Linked DNA regions of Homo sapiens: regions 1 and 2 are each linked to region 3. The links are contacts of gene promoters, found by promoter capture Hi-C in human tissues and cell types (Jung and others, 2019). All regions are on one chromosome and are shown on one strand. Each heading gives the region's core, a stretch centred on a gene start or on the middle of the fragment in contact. The rest is flanking DNA. Distances are from core to core; before and after follow the strand shown.

Evidence for each region. Contacts are between HindIII fragments. The study calls those that stand out against the background at their distance.
Region 1: a contact is called between a fragment that was not itself captured here and the fragment with the promoter of OCA2 in region 3, in 1 of the 25 tissues and cell types used here (dorsolateral prefrontal cortex).
Region 2: a contact is called between a fragment that was not itself captured here and the fragment with the promoter of OCA2 in region 3, in 1 of the 25 tissues and cell types used here (dorsolateral prefrontal cortex).

What each region holds. Positions count from the first base shown.
Region 1 is chr15:27,028,177-27,031,286 of GRCh38, forward strand. The region is part of intron 3 of GABRG3 (gamma-aminobutyric acid type A receptor subunit gamma3); the gene reads left to right. Among named protein-coding and RNA genes, the nearest start is that of GABRG3, 59 kb to the left of the region's middle. The HindIII fragment of the contact is 3,286 bases long and covers 1-3,079 here.
Region 2 is chr15:27,002,133-27,005,464 of GRCh38, forward strand. The region is part of intron 2 of GABRG3 (gamma-aminobutyric acid type A receptor subunit gamma3); the gene reads left to right. Among named protein-coding and RNA genes, the nearest start is that of GABRG3, 33 kb to the left of the region's middle. The HindIII fragment of the contact is 3,227 bases long and covers 435-3,332 here.
Region 3 is chr15:28,097,331-28,100,822 of GRCh38, forward strand. It overlaps OCA2 (OCA2 melanosomal transmembrane protein), which reads right to left and starts at 1,985. Exons shown (of 24, transcript NM_000275.3): 1 at 1,894-1,985. RefSeq lists an enhancer at 1,280-1,932. The HindIII fragment of the contact is 22,507 bases long and covers 1-3,492 here.

The DNA of each region.
Region 1 (3,110 bases), core at 187-2,686, 1.1 Mb before region 3:
GGTGATACGGCCCTGCTGCAGGAGTGGAAGGGACTTCTCCAGTGAGGTCCTCTTCATCTGAAACTTGACGGATAGGCAAGAGTGTGCTAGGTGGGATAAAGTTTGAAGGTCCTTAGTAACACAGGAGGACAGAGTGCGTCACACAGCTGGGGACGAGGGAGTGATGTGTGGAGAGATGCCTGGAGGGGCACATGGGGGCAGCTGTGACCAAGGCCCTGAAGCTGCAGTTAAGGGTCGGACCTCAGCCTTCTCTTCATCCAAAACAGATCCCTGCGTTTGGAAACTGTGAAAACCTTTTCCCATCAGAGATCTGAGCAGGTCATATTTCATGAGATTTGTTCAAATCCAGGCCGGGCACAGTGGCTCACGCCTGTAATCCCAGCACTTTGGGAGGCTGAGGCAGGCAGATCACAAGGTCAGGAGTTCGAGACCAGCCTGGTCAACGTGATGAAACCCTGACTCTACTAAAAATATAAAAAATCAGCTGGGCATGGTGGCAGGCGCCTGTAGTCTCAGCTACTCGAGAGGCTGAGGCAGAAGAATCGCTTGAATCCAGGAGGCGGAGGTTGCAGTGAGCCAAGATTGAGCCACTGCACTCCAGCCTGGGTGACAGAGCTAGACTTCATCTCAAAAAAAAAAAAAAAAAAAAATCCAGTAAGATCGCTAGTCAGACCCCTCTCTCCCTGAAAAAAAACAAAAACTACATGATGATGCAGAGCTCACATTAGGGACTTGAAATCATGAACTCTGATCCTTCCCTGTGGGGTGAGAAACGACCTTAGAATGGCCGGGGGCATTGTAAGCCCTGGGCCCTGGAGAAGAACACGTGTGCACCAGCATCCTGCTCATCTGGAGGCTGACACAGCAGGTTTCCAAGGCTGAGCTGTGGCAGGATGTGGAGTAGAAAGCTATTTTCTATTAACTCTCTCATTTGTAAAACTTGCCCTGAATATTTTGAAACTTCACTTAGTCCAGTTGGTTTTCTTTCTAGCATGGCTCTCTACCCTACTGAAGGGGTGGGGAGCCTGTGTGGCTGCCTGCTGCTGTGTGAGTTGGAAGCAGCTGGCACGCAGCCCTGGGGAAGCCGAATGCTAGCAAGTGCTTTCCTCTGCAAACAGCGCCGAGGCCGCAGTCAGCGCTCAGCAGGGATGGCACTGTCTAGGCCATTCTGGAGTCTGATTTCCTGAGGAAGACACAACGTACTACTAGCCTACCTCGGCTCAGCAAAGCATAGAGGGCAGGCAAGGATTTGTTTAAAATGCACACACACACACACACACGCATGCACACATGCACACACTCGTGCACACACACAGGCACACACGTACGTGTGCACACATGCATCACACGCACACATACAGGCGCACACACACGCACACACACGCACATTTATATGTTTAATTCCCATGTTCTCCTTGGGTGAGTTGCTGTGTGTCTCTCTCTGTTCCTTCACGCACATTTGCCATCCGACTAGTGTGAGGCATTGTCCTGGGTGAAGGTGAGACACGAGGAACCAAGGCCTGCTTTGGTGGGGCAAGTCTGTGGATGAGCTGAGTGCCACAGTGGAGGTAGGTTCCCTTCTAAGCAGCCCCGAGCTGGCAGGCTCTGGCTGGCCTGAGGGAAGTTTCAAAGCCCTCAGGAGGCAGGGGCCTCGGGGACCACTTCTGGAAGAATGAGTGTTTCTTACCTTTGTGCTGGGAATGCTTTGCTGGGACGCCAGAATGATAAGGGCATCTCACATTGCCGAGTGCATCACATAGACCCGCTATATCTGTGCAACCAAACGACGCAATTTTAAAAGAAGTAAAGGGCTTAAAAATGAAACACAGATCTTAGGAAAAATAATAGAAATTTTAAAGTAGAGAACTGACGGTGTAGGTGGGTATTGGGGATTGAGTTAGCAATAAAAAAGGATATAAGAAAGACTAAAACAATCAAAGAATACAAGATGAGAAGAAGCACAATTTAGAGATGCAGACAGGGTTTAAGGATGTAAATTTGTATTGGGGGTTTGACCGTAAAGGTAAAGCCTGGTAAAATTATGGCTTCTTGTCCAAATAGTCATTTAACAATCAATGAAACAGGGAACAATGACTATTTCACTTTCTCCTTCCTCTTCTTCCTCCTCCTTCTTTCACACTTTCTGCCTTTTATTGATATTATTAACACTGAAGATTCTGCCTCAGCCATTCCTTCTGTGGAGTGGAAATGAAGTTGTGTCTCAATCTATTGTTTAATAGATTATCTTTGTCTTGTTTATCCTGGAGCTGTTTATGCTTTTTCTAGTTATCGAGATTAGAAACGGGACCAGGGGAATGTTCCTCTACATGAAGCTTTCACAGCATCCTCTGCCTTTGTCGCTGCAACATACCTAAATGTGTAGCATTCATCAAAGAAAGTGTGTGTGGTTTGTTTCCACACCAGGAAAGCTGCATGCAAGGGGGCTTGTGAGTTTATTTTTGAGAATATCCACTTCAAGCAGCCTTTTAGGAAAGCAAAGAAGAAAACCAATGTTCTGACACTCTGTGCTATTGACCCCAAATCCTTTAATCTTCACAAGACCATAGTGGAGAAGATATTGACCTTCCTGCTTGTTTGAGTCCAGTAAGTGGAAGCTTGTGGAAGACATCTTAGAGCAAGGTTCTGAGTGTGACCTGCTTGGCAACAAAGCCCTGGCTTTGTTTCCTAGTCAATATGGACACACAGCAGCTGTACATACCTGTAGGGCCACAGCCTTAACATAGACACAAAAGGCTCAGTGTTAGGATTACTTTTCTGTGTTTTTTAAAAGAATTAAATTAATAAATTTTTTGAGCATTTTTAGGTTTACATAAAAATTGAGCAGAAAGTAGAGTTCCCCTATATATTTTCCTCTACACACACACAGACACACACACACACACACACACACATACAACACATAACACATTATTATTAACATCTTGCATTAGTGTATTGTATTTGTTACAATGAATGAATGCACCTTAATCCATCTTTATCATGCAAAGCCTATGGCTTACATTAGGATTCACTCTTGGTGTTGTTTATTTTATGGATTTCGACAAATGTCTAATGCCATGTATCTGCCACTATAGTATCTTAAGAACAGT
Region 2 (3,332 bases), core at 798-3,297, 1.1 Mb before region 3:
TCAGCATTTTACTAAACTATTTAAAACTTTCCAGCCATTACATCACTCATTGTATAACTGTAATACAATTTGCTGAAGGCTGCTGACTGAACTCGCACTCGAAGGACACACAGTAGTGTTTTCTGTCAGGGCTCACTGGCCCACAGGGGGATTTTCCAGTGTTGTCCAGGACACCAATTCAGTGCCTGAATCATCCACACTTTCCTGGCAGCAAGCTATCCTTCAAAGATAGCACTTCCTCCCTCAGCATGGATTCTGATTTCACAAATAGTTTTAGAAATTTTAGCAGTGGGCTCATGGTGGTATTTGTCTAAACTATTTAACATTTTCTCTCAGCATTTTAATTTGTTAAATATCTTAATGAAGCCATTCTACTTTTAGTGCAGCATTTCATTTTTTTCTTTAGATATTATTTTTATTTTTAAGCTAAGAAATTTATGCTGTAAAAATGTGGGATGTGCGGAATAGTATAAAAACTAGAAATAAAAGCCATGCAGCTGGACATGGGGCTCATGTCTATCATCTCAGCACTTTGGGAGGCCAGGGCAGTAGGATTGCTTAAGGCCAGGAGTTTGAGAGCAGCCTGGGAAACATAGTGAGACCGTGTCTCTCAAAAAAAAAAAAAAAAAAAGGAAGGAAGGAAGGAAGGAAAGAAGGAAAGAGAGAAAGAGAGAAAGAGAGAAATAGCTAGATCTGGTGGTGTGTGCCTGTGGTCCCAGCTACTTGGGAGGCTGAGGTGGGAGGATTGCCTGAGCCCAGGAGTTTGAGGTTACAGTGAGCTACGATTGCATCACTGTATTCCAGCCTGGGTAACAGAATGAGACCCTGACTCGAAAATTAAATAAAATAAAATACAATAAATAAACAAAACAAAACAAAAACCATATGCCCCTATCCAGAAACTATCACATGTGAATATTTAAATATGTTTTCTTCAAGCTTCTATTACATTTATAAATTACAGAATTTGGTTTTTCTCACATAGCCTTATATCGTTGGTATTCAAGTATCATGAAATAGTTTTTATTTTTTTATTTTTTATTTTTTTTAATTTTGTATTTTTATTTTATATTTATTTATTTATTTATTTATTTATTTATTTATTTTTTATTGATCATTCTTGGGTGTTTCTCGCAGAGGGGGATTTGGCAGGGTCATAGGACAATAGTGGAGGGAAGGTCAGCAGATAAACAAGTGAACAAAGGTCTCTGGTTTTCCTAGGCAGAGGTCCCTGCGGCCTTCCGCAGTGTTTGTGTCCCTGGGTACTTGAGATTAGGGAGTGGTGATGACTCTTAACGAGCATGCTGCCTTCAAGCATCTGTTTAACAAAGCACATCTTGCACCGCCCTTAATCCATTTAACCCTGAGTGGACACAGCACATGTTTCAGAGAGCACAGGGCTGGGGGTAAGGTCACAGATCAACAGGATCCCAAGGCAGAAGAATTTTTCTTAGTACAGAACAAAATGAAAAGTCTGCCATGTATACTTCTTTCTACACAGACATGGCAACCATCCGATTTCTCAATCTTTTCCCCACCTTTCCCCCCTTTCTATTCCACAAAACCGCCATTGTCATCATGGCCCGTTCTCAATGAGCTGTTGGGTACACCTCCCAGACGGGGTGGTGGCCTGGCAGAGGGGCTCCTCACTTCCCAGTAGGGGCGGCTGGGCAGAGGCGCCCCTCACCTCCAGGACGGGGTGGCTGGCCGGGCGGGGGGGGCTGACCCCCCCACCTCCCTCCCAGACGGGGCGGCTGGCCGGGCAGAGGGGCTCCTCACTTCCCAGTAGGGGCGGCCGGGCAGAGGCGCCCCTCACCTCCTGGACGGGGCGGCTGGCCGGGCGGGGGGCTGACCCCCCACCTCCCTCCCGGACGGGGCGGCTGTCCGGGCGGGGGGCTGAACCCCCAACTCCCTCCCGGACGGGGCGGCTGACCCGGCGGGGGGCTGACCCCCCTACCTCCCTCCCGGACGGGGCGGCTGGCCGGGCGGGGGGCTGACCCCCCCACCTCCCTCCCGGACGGGGTGGCTGCCGGGCGGAGAGGCTCCTCACTTCCCAGACGGGGTGGCTGCCGGGCGGAGGGGCTCCTCACTTCTCAGATGGGGCAGTTGCCAGGCAGAAGGTCTCCTCACTTCTCAGACGGGGCGGCCGGGCAGAGACGCTCCTCACATCCCAGACGGGGTGGCGGGGCAGAGGCGGTCCCCACATCTCAGACAATGGGCGGCCGGGCAGAGACGCTCCTCACTTCCTGGATGTGATGGCGGCCGGGAAGAGGCGCTCCTCACTTCCTAGATGGGATGGCGGCCGGGCAGAGACGCTCCCCACTTTCCGGACTGGGCAGCCAGGCAGAGGGGCTCCTCACATCCCAGACGATGGGCGGTCAGGCAGAGACACTCCTCACTTCCCAGACGGGGTGGCGGCCGGGCAGAGGCTGCAATCTTGGCATTTTGGGAGGCCAAGGCAGGCGGCTGGGAGGTGGAGGTTGTAGCCAGCCGAGATCACGCCACTGCACTCCAGCCTGGGCACCATTGAGCACTCCATGAAATAGTTTTTAAACTGCATCTTGATTGTTTTATGTTTCCCAGTTGTCGGACATTTATTTGGTCTTAAAATTTTCATTATGATAAACAACACCAATGCAGAAATTTTTTACCTGCATTCGACATTTGTATTAGTTACATATTGCTGTAAAATAAACCGCCTTAAGATTCACTGGCCTACGACTGATGACTGTGTGGACTGGCATTGTGAGCGGGAGTCAGCTGGGCTGGACATACCTAATATGTCTACAGGCAGTTGGAGGACTGGCTGGATGGTGCCCAGTGGCTCCATTGGCCCATCTGGGCCTCAGCGGGGTGACTGGAAAGGCAAGAATAGCTGGGCCCCTCCGGGTGGTCATGCAAAGATAGCATTTTATTTTATTTTATTCTATTTTATTTTTCTGTAAGTTATTGGGGGTACAGGTGGTATAACAGTTTTAGAAATTTTCTAGCAGGATCATGGCAGTATTTGTCTAAACTATTTAACATTTTCCCTCAATATTTAAATTGTTAAATATCTTATTTTATTTTATTTATTTATTTATTTTTGAGATGGAGTCTCTCTCTGTCGCCAGGCTGGAGTGCGGTGGTGCAATCTCGGCTCACTGCAACCTCCGCCTCCCGGGTTCAAGCAATTCTTCTGCCTCAGCCTCCCGAGTAGCTGGGACTACAGGAGCAGGCCACCACGCCCAGCTTTAAATTGTTAAATATCTTAATGAAGCAGTGTGCTTTGAGTGCAGCATTTCATTTTTTTCTTTAGATATTATTTTTATTTTTAAGTTAAAAAGAAATTG
Region 3 (3,492 bases), core at 735-3,234:
AAACTGCGGAAACCCAACAACCAGCGAGTGAGCTGGTAGAGCCAGCGGCCCCAAGGAGCTGAGGGAGCTCCGGCTTGTGGAGTCTCTTCTCACATTTCCAGCATATGGAGAATGCCACACTGGGTCAGCCCCTGCCCCAGATCCTGCCCCCTGGCCTCCAGGCTCTGGGCTTTCCTCCCCTCTGTGGTAGCCTTTATCTCCATTGCAAGCCATCTTTCCACTACTAACAGTTAAAAGCCTCCCCTTTCTCTCTACTCTCCCAAGAAACCTCATCCTCACCTGTGGACAGGTGGCCGCCCAACTCTCTTCTGCAGCTCAAACCACTGTGTCCATCTACCTCTTTGTGTCCCTAGACATAAAGGTACCCAAAACTCCCAGAGTGCTGAAGCCACACCTGGCCTTTCCCAGGGGCCCACTGATCCCACCATCCATCACCCATCACCAACTGGGAATCCCCCCTGCAGCTCACCAGTGCTTCCCTGCCCCGGCCTGGCAACCACACTCAGTGGGAAGGCCTTGGCAGTGGCTTTCTTCAACTCCCCAGCTGCTCCCAACCCCCCAGCCACAGTGATCTTTCCAAAATGCATATGGCCTCAAACTCAAAATATTTCCTTGCTGCCTGCCACTCCAGCATAGAAACGGGGACCCAGGTGACACAGGTGTCATGCCGCTGGGTTTCCAGGGACAGCCAGGACCTCCCCATTCCTGGTATTCCTGATATCCTCAGATCTCAGCTGCTCCAGGGGCTGGAGGTTGCGTTCTTCTCATAAAACAAGAACAGTATAGGCATTTGCTTTTCATCAGTGTAATGAAACTTTAGGGACTTATGATCCTAAATCACATTACACCAATGTGAACTGCACTCAAATTGTTGTAAACTAAATTTGCAGAACAAGCAGTTTTTGTGCAATTCTTTGCAGTCTACTCAGCTCTTTCATCTCTGTGTTCAGGTTCAATCCTCATTAGTTCTTCTATGAGAGATAGTTATCCCCAGATGCGTTCAATGCTCAGCTCCTTGCCCTGGCAGGCCCCGTCCCAGGGTCCTGGATGGCAGATGCCATGCCCGCCCCGCGAAGCTCAGGCTCACCAAGCAAGCAAACCGCAGCTGGTTTAGGTAGACAGCAGCTGCCCACAACTGCTAACAGCCTCGGGTTTCTTTTCCTCAGAATCACTCACCCTAAATCTACACATTGTAGACTGTCACATTGGTCTAAGTAGTGCTCCTCAAAGTGCACTGCACATTAGAGTCACCTGGGGAGCTTCACCGCCGGGCCCCAGGCTCTGATTCGCCCAATGGGAAGGGAGCACCGGGCACTTGTCCTGAGCCCCTGGCCCCTGCCTGGTTCTGCAAACCCAGAGCGTCCACATACCAGGCTTCCTGTGCTTAACATTGTGTCCTTGAAAAGAGCTAGCTGCACTAATGCCCATTGATTTCACTGTGTGTGACCACAGTAAAGAGAAGCAGCTTTGAGGGATTTAGTGTTTTCACTCCAGTGCATTCCATTCTAAGGAAACGCCTGACCACGGCTCATGGCTAGGAGGCCCCGCAGTGCCAGATGCTGCCCTGGAGTTCAAGTGGAACATTTGCTGTCTGAACCTTTCCAAACTCCCCCCACCCATGACCTCATGGCCCACCAGGGGGCGACTTTTTCCTGGGTCGCCTGGCAGAGAGCCGGAGGGGGTGCTCAGGGGGCAGCTGCTGCAGGCCCAGGCGGACTCAGCCGCGCTAGGTCGGCTCCGTCGCACCCGTCTGTGCACACTAACCTTTAGGGGAACTTGCCTTGCTTCCTAAGCCGCGACTCAGCCGGGGCTGTGTAAACCCTCCCTGCCTGTTCCCAGGCTAGTCTGGCTCCTCGCCTCCTTCCTCCCGACCGCGGAGCACGTGCACTTTACCTGCGCACTTGCAGATCTTTCTCCAGGAGTGAGTTTAAGGTCCGCACCTCCGCTCTGGATGGTGAGCGGAGCACAGCCTTCGAAGTAAGAACTCAGAGGGAGCTCGGCGCTCCCGCAGCGGGTCCCCCACCCAGGCACGCCCCCGGCCCGGCCCCGCCCACAGCACTCCCCACTCGGCCCCGCCCACAGTGCGGCCACGCCCGTAGCACGCCCCTCCCGGCCACGCCCACAAAGCTGCCCACATGGCCCCGCCCACAGCTCGCCCGCTCCGCACCCCCGGCCCCTCAGCTCCCCAGCCCCCGGCGGCGCGGGCTGAGAGCAGCTCCGTCTAAGGCCACGCCGCCCCGGCGTCCCCGACAGCGCTCTCCGCGGGGATAGTTTCCAGCTTTACCTCTAAAGAGGCGGCCCAGGACTGCGGACAGGCTTTTCCCTATGAACAAGAACGGGGAAATGCTCAGTGAACATTCTGTTCCCTTCAGAGCTCTCCCAGCGGGCACTGAGAGGCCCTCCAGCTAGGACGCCAAGGTTACACTTGCCGACAGCCCCTCCTGCAGCACAGACACACACACGAGATACACAGACACACACAGATACACAGACACACACAGATACACACAGACACACACACAGATACAGAGATAGACACGATATACACAGACACAGATACACAGATACACATACACAGAGACACACACAGAGACACAGCAATACACAGACACACAGATACAGGACACAGATACACAGATGACACACAAGGACACATGCAGATACACAGACACACATACACAGATACACACAGACACATGCACAGATACACAGAGACACACACACAGGCACAGAGATACACACAGATACACAGATATACACACAGACACAGATACACAGACACACACAAATATATACAGATACTCAGACACAGATACACAGACACAGGTACAGACACACAGATACAGATACAGAGATACATACAGATACAGAGATACAGAGACACACACAGATACACACACGGACACACACAGAGATACACAGACACAGATATACACAGGCACACAGATACAGACACACAGATACACACATGCACAGATACACACAGATACAGAGATCTACACACAGAGATACACAGACACACAGATACGCAGACACAGAGATACACAGATACATAGACACATACAGACACACACACAGATACATGCACAGACACACACGCAGATACACATATACAGATATACAAACACAGATATACGCACAGACACACACAGATACACACACAGATACAGACACACACACAGATACACGCACAAACACATGGAGACAACACAGCTACAGACACACACACAGCTGCAGTGGCCAGGCCCTGCACAGGAATTGGCAGGAAGTAAGAGGCTCCATCCACAGTGTAACAGCAGAGCTGAAAGAGATCTCATGCCTTATAACAGAGCACATTGCACAGCCACAGGGTGGGCCAGGGGTTGCCCTGGTAGCAGGGACCGAGGATGTCCTCGGCATGGCAGGCTCCAGGACACTGAAGTTCCCAGCCAGGGCCCTGACAGCAGGAGAGCCCGAGATCTCTGAGACCACATTCACTGTCGCATGTGCAGA